Regions from separate parts of the Homo sapiens genome. Here region 2 is linked to region 1. Evidence: promoter capture Hi-C in human tissues and cell types (Jung and others, 2019). All regions are on one chromosome and are shown on one strand. The core of a region is centred on a gene start or on the middle of the fragment in contact, and the rest is flanking DNA. Distances in the headings are between cores, read along the strand shown. Region 1 holds the start of UBXN2B (UBX domain protein 2B). Region 2 has its middle 4.3 kb from the start of LINC03018.

Region 1 (6,548 bases), core at 1,604-4,103:
AGGTATACTGTCATGGCCAGCAGCAAAATCCACTTTGCGAACATCTTAAGAAATATGATGCCTGACTCCCACTCTATACCAATTATTAATAAATCTGAGTACCTGGAGACGAGAGAGAAGAGGTGATTCTAATGTACAAGAATGTTAGAGAATCACTGGCTCAGAGGATTCCATCCCCAACCTAAGGCAAGATCCTTCAGAATCTGTCTCAAGCCTCCATTCTACATCTGTCTCCTCCCCACCATTCCATAACCATCTTTTGTCATTTCTAAGTTGCAACCATATAGCAATTTGCTGACATGAATATAATATTTTAAATATCAGTGTCTTTGTAAATATCTTTGCCTTTACCAAGATTCTTTCTGGTCTAATACTTCTACTGGAAGTACTTTCCTTCAACACTCAGCTAAAATGTCTTTGGCTCTATGAGGCATTTCTTGTTAAAGAGCCCGAGATTTCTAGGGCAGAATCTGATGTTAAGAGAGTATCAGGAAAACAAGTGCAGTTTAGTATTTGGCACTGCCATTTACTACAGGGTGAAGTTAGTCTTCATCATCTGGTTTCCTCGGGTATAACAAGATAATCATAACTACCTGGTAGAGGGATAAATGAAATTACACAGGGAATGCACAGCTGGGGGAGAAAATTTTCTCCTTTACTCTCTCAGAGTCTCCAGCTGGGTCCAAGAATTAAACGGACACAAAACAGATTAACAGGGAAAAAGCATACAAATTTTATTTAATAAAACTTTACGTATAAGTGGGTGTCCTCACAGGAAAATAAACACCCGAAGAAGTGGCTAGGCCTAAGTGCTTATATACTAGGTTGAACAAAGAGAGGCAATCGTGGAAGAGTATCTAGGAAGATACTGGTTAGTTTAACAATATCTGTACAGATGTTTCTCGGCCTCAACTCCCCTTCTCTGGTGATGAGTATCTTTCCTCTTGGTATAGGGAGGGCATCTATCACATGGTAGTTTCTTTTCCTGCTTTCAGGAAGAAAAGGTCAGAGTGCTCTTCTTGCACCTGCTGTTTATCAAATGCTTTTTTTTGTTTTTTGTTTTTTGTTTTTAAGACGGAGTCTCTCTGTGACACCCAGGCTGAAGTGCAATGGTGCATCTCTGCTCACTGCAACCTCTGCTTCCCGGGTTCAAGCAATTCACCTGTCTCAGCCTCCCAAGTAGCTGGGACTACAGGCACGCGCCACCACGCCCAGCTAATTTTTGTATTTTTAGTAGAGACAGGATTTCACCACGTTGGCCAGGCTGGTCTGAAACTCCTGACCTCAAGTGATCCGTCTGCCTCGGCCTCCCAAAGAGTTGGGATTACAGGCGTCAGCCACGACGCCCAGCCTCAAATGCCTTTATACATCAAAACGATCAGTATGCCAAAGCTCGGGCGGCAAGCTGTCGACTCCAGCACCTAGCATGGTGCACACAGCAGATACCAACGGAGTATTTCCCCTCACATGGCTCACATTTCCTTTGTAACCCTCCCAAGCAAAGCTCTACTGCAAGCTGCATCTTACCCGTTTACATGTCTCTTTTCCCTACTAGACTGAGTTTCATAATGACTGGGACTATTTCTTTTTACCTTTGCATCCCTTGGGCATAAAAGTGCCTAGGAGGCCAGGCGCAGTGGCTCACGCCTGTAATCCCAGCACTTTGGGAGGCCGAGGTGGGCAGATCATGAGGTCAGGAGATCAAGACCATCCTGGCCAACATGGTGAAACCCCGTCTTTACTAAAAATACAAAAGTTAGCCGGGCATGGCGGCACGCACCTGTAGTCCAAGCTACTCGGGAGGCTGAGGCAGGAGAATTGCTTGAACCCGGGAGGTGGAGGCTGCAGTGAGCCGAGGTCGCGCCACTGCACTCCAGCTTGGGCGACAGAGCGAGGCTCCGTCTCAAAAACAAAAAGTGCCTAGGATAAGAAGACCAGAGTCTAAATCAATTTCAGTTGAATGACGAGGGCTTGATAGTCTCGAGATCTGCTTTTTTTCTTTTTTGAGACGGATCCTCCCTGTGTCGCCAGGCTGGAGTGCAGTGGCGCGATCTCGGCTCACTGCAACCTCCGACTCCCTGATTCAAGCGATTCTCCTGCCTCAGTCTCCCCAGTAGCTCGGACTACAGGCACGCTCCGCCACGCCCAGCTAATTTTTGTGTATATATATATATATATATGTGTATATATATGTATATATATGTGTATATATATATGTGTGTGTATATATGTGTATATATATATGTGTGTGTATATATATATATATATATATATATATATATATTTTTTTTTTTAGTAGAGAAGGGGTTTCACCATGTTGGCCAGGATGGTCTCGATCACCTCGTCCGCCTCGGCCTCCCAAAGTGCTGGGACTACAGGCGTGAGCCACAGGCCCGGCAGAGTTCTGCTTTTAGCAAATTATTCCAAGCACTTTTTACGGTGTTTTTCACTCTCAGTGCTAATTCACGCTGTGGTGACGATGTACCATCCAATCCTTGATAGGAAAGATCAGAGAATCTGACCAAGACTAGATGGAGAGGTTGCAATTTTTCATCAGATGAAAAATCCAGAGGATGTTTTCATTGTTGAGCTAAATGAATCTGCAAGTCTATGCTGCCCTCTAGGGCGGCCTACAGTGCCTTTAGGCGAGTAGCAGGAGCAACACAAAACTTAACAGAGGTTTCCCTGCGGAGAAACTCCCTTTAAGAAAAAAGGAGAAACCAAAAAGGTGGGCCAGCACCGGAAGCGGGGGCGCGGGTTCGGGTAGCGGGGACGCGCACGCACCTTGCGCGTCTTCGCCCCTCCTGCGGTTGCCAGGCAACCGGCCCCGGAAGTTGCGGCAGGTGCGTCCGCAGCGGGCGCCGCTAGCCAGCGGAAGATGGCGGAGGGCGGAGGCCCTGAGCCCGGCGAGCAGGAGAGGAGGTCTTCCGGGCCGCGGCCTCCGAGCGCGCGGGATTTGCAGGTGAGGCGAGGAGCCGGGGGAGGGAGCGCGGCGGTGGACGCGGGCTGGTGACGGCGCGGGCTGGTGCGAGTTGGAGGCCACCTCTGGCCTCGGCGGAGCCTTTCCCCGACCCCGTCTGGGGATAGAATCCGGCGCCCGGTCTCCCGATGTCGGGTCTTGACACTGTGGTGGTCGTGAACACAAGTGCCCAAGCCTCCAGCGCTGGTGCTTTGTCTCCCTTCCACCCCACGTATGATGTAAAAATAGCTATTCGTTTAGAATGACATTTTGCGGGGTCAGTTGGTCGGTTCACGGGTTGATGCTTCCTTCTTGAGACTTACTCCAGAAGAAAGGTTACTGTGGCCGCAGGGAAGTAGACAGTCACCTGAACAGTAATGATACGTGATTTGTTCTTTTTTGTCTTGGATGCTATTTCTGACTTGCTTACTTAAATATAAAAATGGTTCCATTTTATCAGGTAGGTTTTTCTTTTAAAGGGGTGAAGGAAAGCGATGCACTCTATGCCCATACAGCCTAGTTGTCTAAGCTGTGGTCTTTAAAACATTGCACTGAAGAAACTGGGAAATAAAATTTCGTAATGTTGTGTAGGACACTAGTATTAGTTAGCTAAATAGTAGCGCACCAAATCCCGTTTTATCAGATACTAACGCCACTTTTCTCATTTTAGGCGTTTTTGTGTCTCATTATAAGATTATTGATAAAAATTTGACAAGTAAATATCAGTAAGGAGATACTAAGGAGAATCTTGGTAGAACAGTTTTACTGTATTACTTTACAACCACACTTCATTCTAATGTGAACAAACCACCATCCATTGTAACATACTGCTGAGCTTTGCGAATGTGGAAATAAGGACATCAAATCCTTAGTCGGTGCTGAACTCTATTGATGGGTAGGTATGTAAGTGTAAAAGACAGTTCTACCTTTTGGAAGCCTACAGATTTCTTCGGAGAAATAGGGTATGAATACTTAGCATAACATTTTAAGATGGAGTATGATTGGGTGCCAAAATAAGCAGTGCATAAAGCGAAGAATTTGGAGGCTGGAGAGATCAGTGTAACATTAGGAGGTGAACTTAATGTAGAATAGTTCCAGCTCCCATAGTTGGTTCAGTAGTAGTAAACAGTATCAAGGGATAGGAAGCTATTGTGTACCTCATCTTTCCTATTATAAACCCACATCACTAAGAGGCAGCATGGAGTTAGTAGTCCCACCAATTTTGGTTTGCCTCTTAGTCCTGCTACTTAGTAGTTTTGTGAACTTAGGAGAAATGTCTTAACCTGTCTGATCCTGTGTCTTCATTTGTAAACTGAGGAAGGTCAGGGTGCTGGTGGTGGTGTAAGGATTAAATAATGTTATAAAGGGCCTATGCAAAATTCCTACATTATCCTGGCTCAGTTGTTGCTGGGCAAATATTTGATTCCTTTTTCCTCAGGAGAAAGATGCTATAACTTTCCCTGGCTAGTCAATTCTAATATCATTAAAGTTAATAGAGTGTGTAACTTAATGTCCTTTCCCTAATTTAAATCCATTTCTTCTTTTTATGTGAAAAGTGAGAACAGCTTGCTTAATGACCACCTGATTCTTGGCAAATTGTTTGCAGTCTTAATCCAGTGGATCAAAGTACGATTAATGTTTGGAGATACTCTGGTAGATGTTGCTAATTGTGAGAATGCCTTCATTTCCACCCTAAGTTATGATGGGGATTTTTTTTTTCATCTCCTGTCTACTTGTTGTAGGTTAGGGCAGTAGGAAGATAACTGATTTCTTTATGAATGTGATTTGGTGTATCAAGTACAGTATCTAAGTATTGATAATCTTTCCTTTAGAACTTAATATGAATGTGAAGAACTTGCAAAGAAACTTGAAAACAGCCAAAGGGATGGCATATCAAGAAATAAAGTATGTATCAAAAGTTTAAAAGAATTAAATAATGTTCTTCCCAAATGGTACCTTGGATATTGATTATTTATAGATTATCTTGTTACCGTTTAATCTAGACATGCTTTTCTTAAGAGTTACGCAGTTCGTGCAGCTTTCAGTAGATATTTCTTACTTCCCTAACAGCTTGCTCTAAGAGTCTTTCAGAGTGAGTAAAGGGGCAACATATTACCAATTGGAACAAGCAGAATTACCCCTGAGTAAGTGTATCTTAGCTGCCATGCAGTGTAGGGTTTGTCAGCATCTGAATCAGGAGGGAGTGTTCCAGGTACCACCAGAGAAAAGCTGCATAGTTGCTTCCCAAAAGGCCTCCCAGCCCTGGGAGCCCCCAGGTTACAAACTGCAGACTCGGAAATGTTTTTTTGCATATCAGAGTAGATTTTCATAGCTCCCTTCATCCCCCTCAAATAAGGAGATGGTCATGGGGAAAGTTAGGGGTGGGATTGTTAGTGGCAAAACTAAGCCCAAAACCTCACCAGTGTTCAATAGTATTTCTGAATTGCTTTCTCTTCTGGTGTCCCTCAGCCCGCCACACACATGTTCATTAAGGTATTTAGTTGTATACTCTGTCCCAGTTTTCCTCCACATATTATCTGTTTCTACATAGGTTGGACGGGGAGGGAGTGGGAACAGGGATAACTTCAGTATTGTTAGGGTTAGGATTGGATTTGTTAGGATGGACTCAATAGTGGGTACTATAAATGAGAAGAATTAAAATGTCTGATAGCTGTTCTGATAACTGTGTTGCCACAAGTACCCTAATCATATTGAATGTCATTATTCTGTATCGTTGATTCTCTAGTATGCATCTGTGACCTGGAAGGCTTGTCAGAGATTGCTGGGCCCTACCCCAGAGTGTGATTCATTGGTTCTAGAGTAGAGTTTAAGCATATGCATTTCCTAGAAGTTCCCAGGTGTCTGTATAATAATCATTTATTACAGCGTCTAGAATTGGTTACTCTAAGGCTGAGAATTCCAATACTTTTAATATTTTGCTATATACTTTATTTTCTCACCCGATTCCTTTGCTTTCAGGTTTCAAGTTCTTCACATTTCAAATTCTAGAGGAAAGATTATCAATACTTTACTTACATACTTTATCCTCTGCATATTATTGAAACATTTTCTTAATTACGTTTTGAGATTTTTTTGTTGTGTTAGTTTTGACCAGTACTTCAATTAATATTTATCAATTTAAATTATCATTTCCTCTTTTGATGTAATGTCATCTATGTTAAATAATATAAATTAAATTTCTTTGTAGTATTTACTAATGAACTCATGCCATATGATGCCATATGGCATCAACTCCCTCTAAATATTACTCATTTTCTTCTAAGTTTTTAATGATGTACCGTTAATAACTAGGATCTTTCAGCCAGGTAGACTCTTTAATATCATTTTCCTCATATTCCTCTTTTCTTAATGTATGTTCCACATTCCATGGGGCTAGTGGCATTTTTGCTTTTTTAATTTATGTCACCAAAGAAAATTGTTATTTGATTGGAAGCATTTATTCAAATCTTGTTAAAGCAAAAAGTGTTTAACAAATATAACCCCAATTTAAAATACATCTATCTATATCTATTTCTGATTCATTTTCTATTATGTTCTTTATATAATTCAACGTCAATTTGTTGCCTTT
Region 2 (6,548 bases), core at 2,620-5,119, 670 kb before region 1:
TTGTGTGTGTGTGTGTGTGTGTCAGTGAGGGCCTCTCTCCTGAAGCTCTCCAATGGTTAGGTAGGGTCTGCCAGTGAAGGAACGATAGCAGTGGCCCCTGGGAAGCACCCTGTTTGGCCATCCAAGGCTATGCTGTAAGGTGGCGCAGCCAGGCAGGGACCCCAGGAGAGGCCAGCAGACAGTGGGCTGCTGAGGTCAGACTGGCTTCATGCTATGGAAAAGACAACCCTGCTCTTTCAAGGCCCAACAGTCAACAAAAGCCAAAGCCACCTAGAGAAGTGTGAGTGTGGCAAGACTTGGGGATGGGAGCACCTGGTCTTGCCCCACTGTAGCCATTCTCATGCCAAACCCCCTGGCCTCCAGACAGGCTGGAGTCTTGTCCCTGCCACCTCTCCAAGCAACTCGCTCTGTCAGCTCAAATGTCTGTGGGGGTTATGGGGTCTCCTGCAGCTAGGATTGTGAAGGTCTATGGTGAGAGTGAGCCATATCTCTCGTATTTAACTCATCCCTTCTCCTGAAGTTGTTGGGGGCCAGGAACAAATCCTGGTGTTTGGCAAACCCATGCAGAGTTCCCAGATTCCTCCCTCTTCAGCCAAGGGTCTGCATATGCTCTTTGTCCCCTCTCAATTCATCTGTCCAAAGATCTGCTCGGAGTGTGCTAGTCTTCTTGATGGTCTGTTTTTTCAGTGGGAGATGCTTTTCCTGGCTGCATCTCATTGGCCAGCTTGGCTCCCAGCAATGAGATTTTTATTTCCATTTATTTTTAAATTCAGCATTGAAATCAAGGTCATATAAATTTCACAATTTCCTTCATAATAAATTCATGTTTGTTTTTACATGTATATTCCTCCAAAGAGCAAAAAAGCAAACTTCCTCATGCTCTTGACACCTGCTGAGCTGTGCCATGCCTCCCCCCACTGGCCGTTTTGCCTTCTCTCATATCCTCTTAAGCTTGCGTTTTCTCCCATGGAGAAGCAGAGATCCAGGTAGCAGATCTTCCAGTGTAGGAAGCTTTTAAAGAGCCATGCTCATGTTTATCAAGAATTTTCATTTAAGAATAACAAAAATTGTTACAGTAATGTAGAATGTTAACCTGAAAAATTACCTGACCTCAATCTGTGTTTGCTAGACTCACATTATTATAAAAATATGATTAGTTTATAGCTCTATAAAAATAATTCATTATACTCACCCAGTTTTCTGAGAATTTTAGGAGTCTGCTCATAAGTTAGACAGAGATTCATCTACTTAACTTGAATACTTAGAGATAATTATCTTTTAAAAGTTTAGCAAAGCAGAATAAAACCCAGTTTCAAAACATAAAAGTAGAAATAGTTGAACTTCCCTAAAGCATTATTAAGTATTGTTGGGGATAGATGGGAAGTATGAATCAATTTGAAAGCTTTTAATATTTAGACCAGATTATGGGGTCATTTTTAACCAACTAGAGGTTTAAAAAAGCACAAAATTTATTTATATAAAATAAAAAGTATGCAGTGCTTTGTTCAAAAGAATCTACATGTTGATTCATCACCATAGTCATTATATATGTAGATATATATGTAAAACATCTCCCTTTGAGAAAGCAGCACGTGAAACATAAATACAAACTTGTGAAATATTAAGAAAACTCTAGCTGCTGAGATATTATTTGCTATGGTAGCAATGAGAAACAAGTTATTTCTGAGGTAAAAATCTATGATACGTATGAAATTGAATTGATTCCTTTCATAATATACTGTATTTTGAATCAGAGTGATGGTTTATGTATATGTCTTTCATTTTACATGAAAGACAGTATAGATAGGAGACATAATGAGAATGGTGTTAATGGAATAAAGGAAAAGACAGGAAAGGTAAAGTGTGAGCCCTCATGTAGGACAGAGATTTTCAAACTTTGGCATGTAGTGAAATCAACAAATAGCTTGTTAGAACCCACATTGCCAGGCACCCCCACTCCAGCCACAAAGATTTTACTTCATTGGGTTTACTGATGCAACTCAACAGTTCGAACTCTTAATAGGTTCCCAGGTGGCACTGACGCTGTTGGTTTAGGGTTCACACTTTGAGAGACATTGATGTAGGAGGGTTTGAAATATTTCAGCAAAGTTGATACCAGGCTATCATGAAGCTTGGTGAAACAGATTCCTCTGCTTCTGTGGCTATAAAAATGCTCATTTAGGATTTTTCTAAATGAAAATATATAATTCCTAATAAACTAAAACTACCTTCACATTGTTTCTTTTTCAAACATGGTCTGATTCACATTGCTGTTTGCTATTTATTTTTACTCAAATAAGCCTTCCTACAGAACTCTGTCACTGCAAATAGTCTCAATTCGCCATTAGCTAACATTCCATCTGAGATGAATCAGAGCTAGAAGAATGATTATTTCACAATAAATGCCTTTGGGTCCAATTTTTATGTAACTTTATATACTTATACAGCAAATCCCCTCCTCATGTGTCAATGGTCTGAGTAGACCTCATGTCCAATCCAGAATTAATCCCAATTCTGGATTATTTTAGGGTAGCTCTATGCATTAATTGGCATAAACTTCCTTTCTCCTAAGCCAATCACTGTGGTAGGAAGAATGGAGTTACTGCTCTCTCTGAACTACATTACTGCTATGCAATAACATAGGCTTTGAAAGAATATTGGTGTACTGTCTCAGGCTGGCTTTCTCAGATGCTTGCCCAAGACAAAGATTTGTATGCACATGATTTATTAATTATCTCAACAAGACAGGAAAGAGAAAGAAGCTAGCCTTGTATAACTGCAGGCAACGATCCCAGGATTGCAGTGTCAGCATGAACCATGGGGGAAGCTCTGGAAGGAAAATGAGCTCTCAGGGTAATCCTGACCTGAGATAAGACAGCTGGGCTTTCCTGCTTCTCTGTCATCCTTCAGCCTGAGGCTCAGGCTGCCCCCAAAGGATGGAGGCTGAGCTCAGTCCCATAGAAACAGTAAGATCTAAGGAGGTATGTGCAGGACAACAGCGGTATTCACTACAGGGTGACAACCAGACTCTGCCACACCAAGATTAAGAGATTTTATTTTATCTAATATGTCAGCACATCCTGCCAAACATGTGCAAAGAGGGAAAAATGGGACAGAGAGAATGGATAGTTCCTGAATTTGAAAAATGCTGGACTAAATAAAGTTAAATCGAAGACATTCTGCAGGTCTTTTATGAGCCTTTACTATATTAATGGCTGTTGTGAGTCAAACCACAAAATTGTTTTTATAAGACTGTCTCTCGGGTGTATCTTCTGTGAGACAGACTTTGGAAAAGCTGCTGTGAGTAAGGGGTTGTCAAAGGTTTGTAGAGCAGCATAATCAGATCAGGATTTATGGCGTGAAGTAAAAAGGGATGGAGAAAAGGAGCACTAAGACAACAAGATCACTTTGCTTCTGCAAAAGAACAAATGAAATATAATTAAATCATGAAATAAGCAAGTTGTATAGAAAACAAAGGAGGAAATGAACTAGACTATCTAATAGTTAGAATTGTCATAACTATGAAGGCTGTGAGGCACTAAAGAAGTTGGAGATCCCAAGGTCATTGGCTCAAGTGACTCCACAGCTAGTGAGGCCTTTAATGATGATGGAGAATTGATGAGGAGGACAATTCGGGGAGGCAAGATTAAAGTTTGAAAACTACATGGAGATGTGTGGTAGACAACTAACACTAAAGGTGTGGATTTTGGATTTACCAGCTTTGGGCTGTGACTTAGTCGGCTTGGGCTGCCATAACCAAACACCACAGACTAAATGGCTTAAACAACATAAATTTATTTTCTTAAATTTCTGGAGGCTGGAAGTCCAAGATCAAGGTGTTAGCATCATCAGTTCCTGGTGAGACCCACCTCCTTGGCTTGCAAACAATCACCTGCTCACTTGTCCTCACATGACTTTTTTTGTGGAAAAAGACTCTTCCTCTTCTTGTAAGGACACTAGTCCTATCATGTTAAGACCCTCATCAATCACTTTTAACATGATCGATTACTCTTTCAGTATCTTATTTAACATTAATTTCTTCACTATCTCCAAATACAGTCACATTGAGAGAATGGCTTCAAAATATAATCTTTTGGGAGATAGGAGAAACAATTCAGGTCTTAACTGAAAATAAATTCAGTGCTAGTTGGAGCCTAAAGAACTAGGAAGTTGACTAGACTGAGAATTGACTGAGAATGGGACTCAGGGGGCCTCCAACCTTTGTAAGACAAGGGGGATAAAGGAGAGCCAGACCTATCAACTCTCAGAGCTAGCAGACTTGAGAAAACCATGTTCACTGCTCTGTACTTCTGTTGCTTCACCTGTAAAAAGGAGCTAATGATTGTTTTTGTTTATGGAGCTTTTATGAAAATAATATATGAGTTAGGGCCCAGTTGGGAGACAGAACACATGCAATGTTTACAACCACAAAGTGTAATATAAGGAATTATTAACAGAAGATTTGCTTATGAGGAGTTGCCTGTTGAGAATTAAAGAGAATACTAAGGAACCTAGGAGCCACAGATGGAAGGAGCAGGCATGATTTCCAGGGCTGACATGAAACACCCAGGGAAGATCTCCTCATGGCCATCGTAGCTGAACTCCAGATGGTGGAGAATGCATGGCCGTGACTCACTGATGGCTCAGAAATCACTCAGGTGTCTCACAGTTGGTAATTGCTGGAAGTCTCTCCTCTGGAGTGCTGGAGAGACTTTCCACAGAGGGATGTACATGCCTCAGAACCTGTTAGGTGCTGGGAGACGCTGTTGGCCATTGGGCACTGCTATTTCAGGCTGGCACAGAACTCTGCGTGGTTTGGTTTAGGATGGCTCTGAGCTAGCTGTCTGGGAAAAAGGTTGGGGCTGGCATACAATGAGTACTCGGTAAATGTTAGCTATTTGCTCCTACTATGGTTCCTACTGGTACTCCTGCTACTGTTGCAGAGTAGTTAAAAACTAGACCTTTACAGCCTGGCAAACCTGGGCTCACATCCCTTATATGCCATTTATTAGCTGCAGGATAGTGGACAAGTGACTTAATCACCTTAAGACTCAATTTCACCGTCTGTGAAATGGCATTAATAATAGTATTTATCTCCTGGGTTTGCTGAGAGCAGTAAATAGGAACATAAAGGTGAACTGCCTTATACAGTAGCAAGCAAGTAGTAATAGATTTCCTTAAGTGGCTTTTAAAATGTTTTAAATAAATATTAGTTCACTTTCTCTCCATAGAATGTTCTTGACATTAAGTATAAAACTGAAAGAAAGAATATGGTGAGACAGTAAATAAATAAGTTAAATGAATGAAAGCTAAGTGACTTTTAATATAGTGATTATTCCATCTTATCTGTGTGTTGAGTCTGAATCTACCAGATTAATTTTAACTGGATGCCTTCTTTATTGAGTGTACACCACAGAGAAGAATTCTAATTCAATTCAGAAGTTCTGAGACAGTAAATTCTCCAAGTGGCAGGTCAACAGCAAATGTATGGATCATTCTGCCCTTTCAAACTCTCACATCAATACTAGTACGTAAGACTCTGCAGTTCCATGTAGAATTGAAATTACCAAATCATGCAGAATAAACTAACAGGCATCTTCTGCATGAGTCAATTAAGACCTTAAATGAGAACATAGTATCTTCTTTCTAGCCTCAGTGATTACATTTTTAATTACCACATATTTTCAGGCACGTCATGGAATTTGACGACTGATAGATTTGGTAAATTCTTCCTGGCTGCTATGGCTGGGAATTAAATTCCAGTTCACATAATTGTGTTTGTTGTTGTTGGTCCATTATGGATATCTACTACAACTGATAAACTCTCTAATCTCAGCTCCACTTGGCACAATGTGGACAAGTCCAAAAAAGAGAGACTTGTTATTGTCAAAAGCAATGAGTTTAAGTGAAACCTGTGACTAGTCACAAAGACCATATCCTTTGAGAGAATAGTCAGAGACTTTCAACAGCAATGTTATATTAGTCTAGCTCAATTACCATTCTCTAGCTTAGTGACAGAAATAATAAATTTCAGAATCTCAAGATATTACTACCCCAGGACAGTAGTTCCTTGAATTCCTTATTCACTGTGCTTTGATTTCATTTTGTGTAGCTAGTGCTTATAAATAAGTGATTTCAATATGTGAGATTTCATCTGACCTATCCAAATATCTGGGGAAAAAAAATAAAAAGAAGTCCGTAAGATTCTGTTTGTTTCATAATTGCTGTGGTCTCCTCTTTGATATTTCAAGCAGATTATTTGCAAACAAGTAGAAATCTCCATGCTAAATAGTCATCCAAACAAGGTTTAAAGTCACTGGCAGGAACTCCATTGCAAAACAGTTCCTAAAAATAAAAAAAAAAAAAGCCCAGATAGAATAAAATAAGAAATTTTCACCATTATATATTGGTAGCATTAGGAAACATGGCAGAAAAATAATTTTTTAAAATTTTCTTGTAAGAACAATGTTAATATTTGGTATTAGATGTTGCGTTGTTCACTAAGAATCTAATATAAAATAAACCATATATGATCAATTATAGATGTT

The links. The method cuts DNA at HindIII sites, captures the fragments that hold promoters and counts their contacts. A contact is called where the count stands out against the background at its distance.
Region 2: a fragment that was not itself captured here is called in contact with the fragment with the promoter of UBXN2B in region 1 in 1 of the 25 tissues and cell types used here (dorsolateral prefrontal cortex).

Annotation. Positions count from the first base shown.
Region 1 is chr8:58,408,508-58,415,055 of GRCh38, forward strand. UBXN2B (UBX domain protein 2B) reads left to right here and starts at 2,854. Exons shown (of 8, transcript NM_001077619.2): 1 at 2,854-2,962. The coding sequence starts at 2,879. RefSeq lists enhancers at 2,850-2,909, 2,920-2,969, 3,250-3,299. The HindIII fragment of the contact is 13,427 bases long and covers 1-6,548 here.
Region 2 is chr8:57,738,614-57,745,161 of GRCh38, forward strand. No RefSeq gene overlaps it. Among named protein-coding and RNA genes, the nearest start is that of LINC03018, 4.3 kb to the right of the region's middle. The HindIII fragment of the contact is 8,204 bases long and covers 1-6,548 here.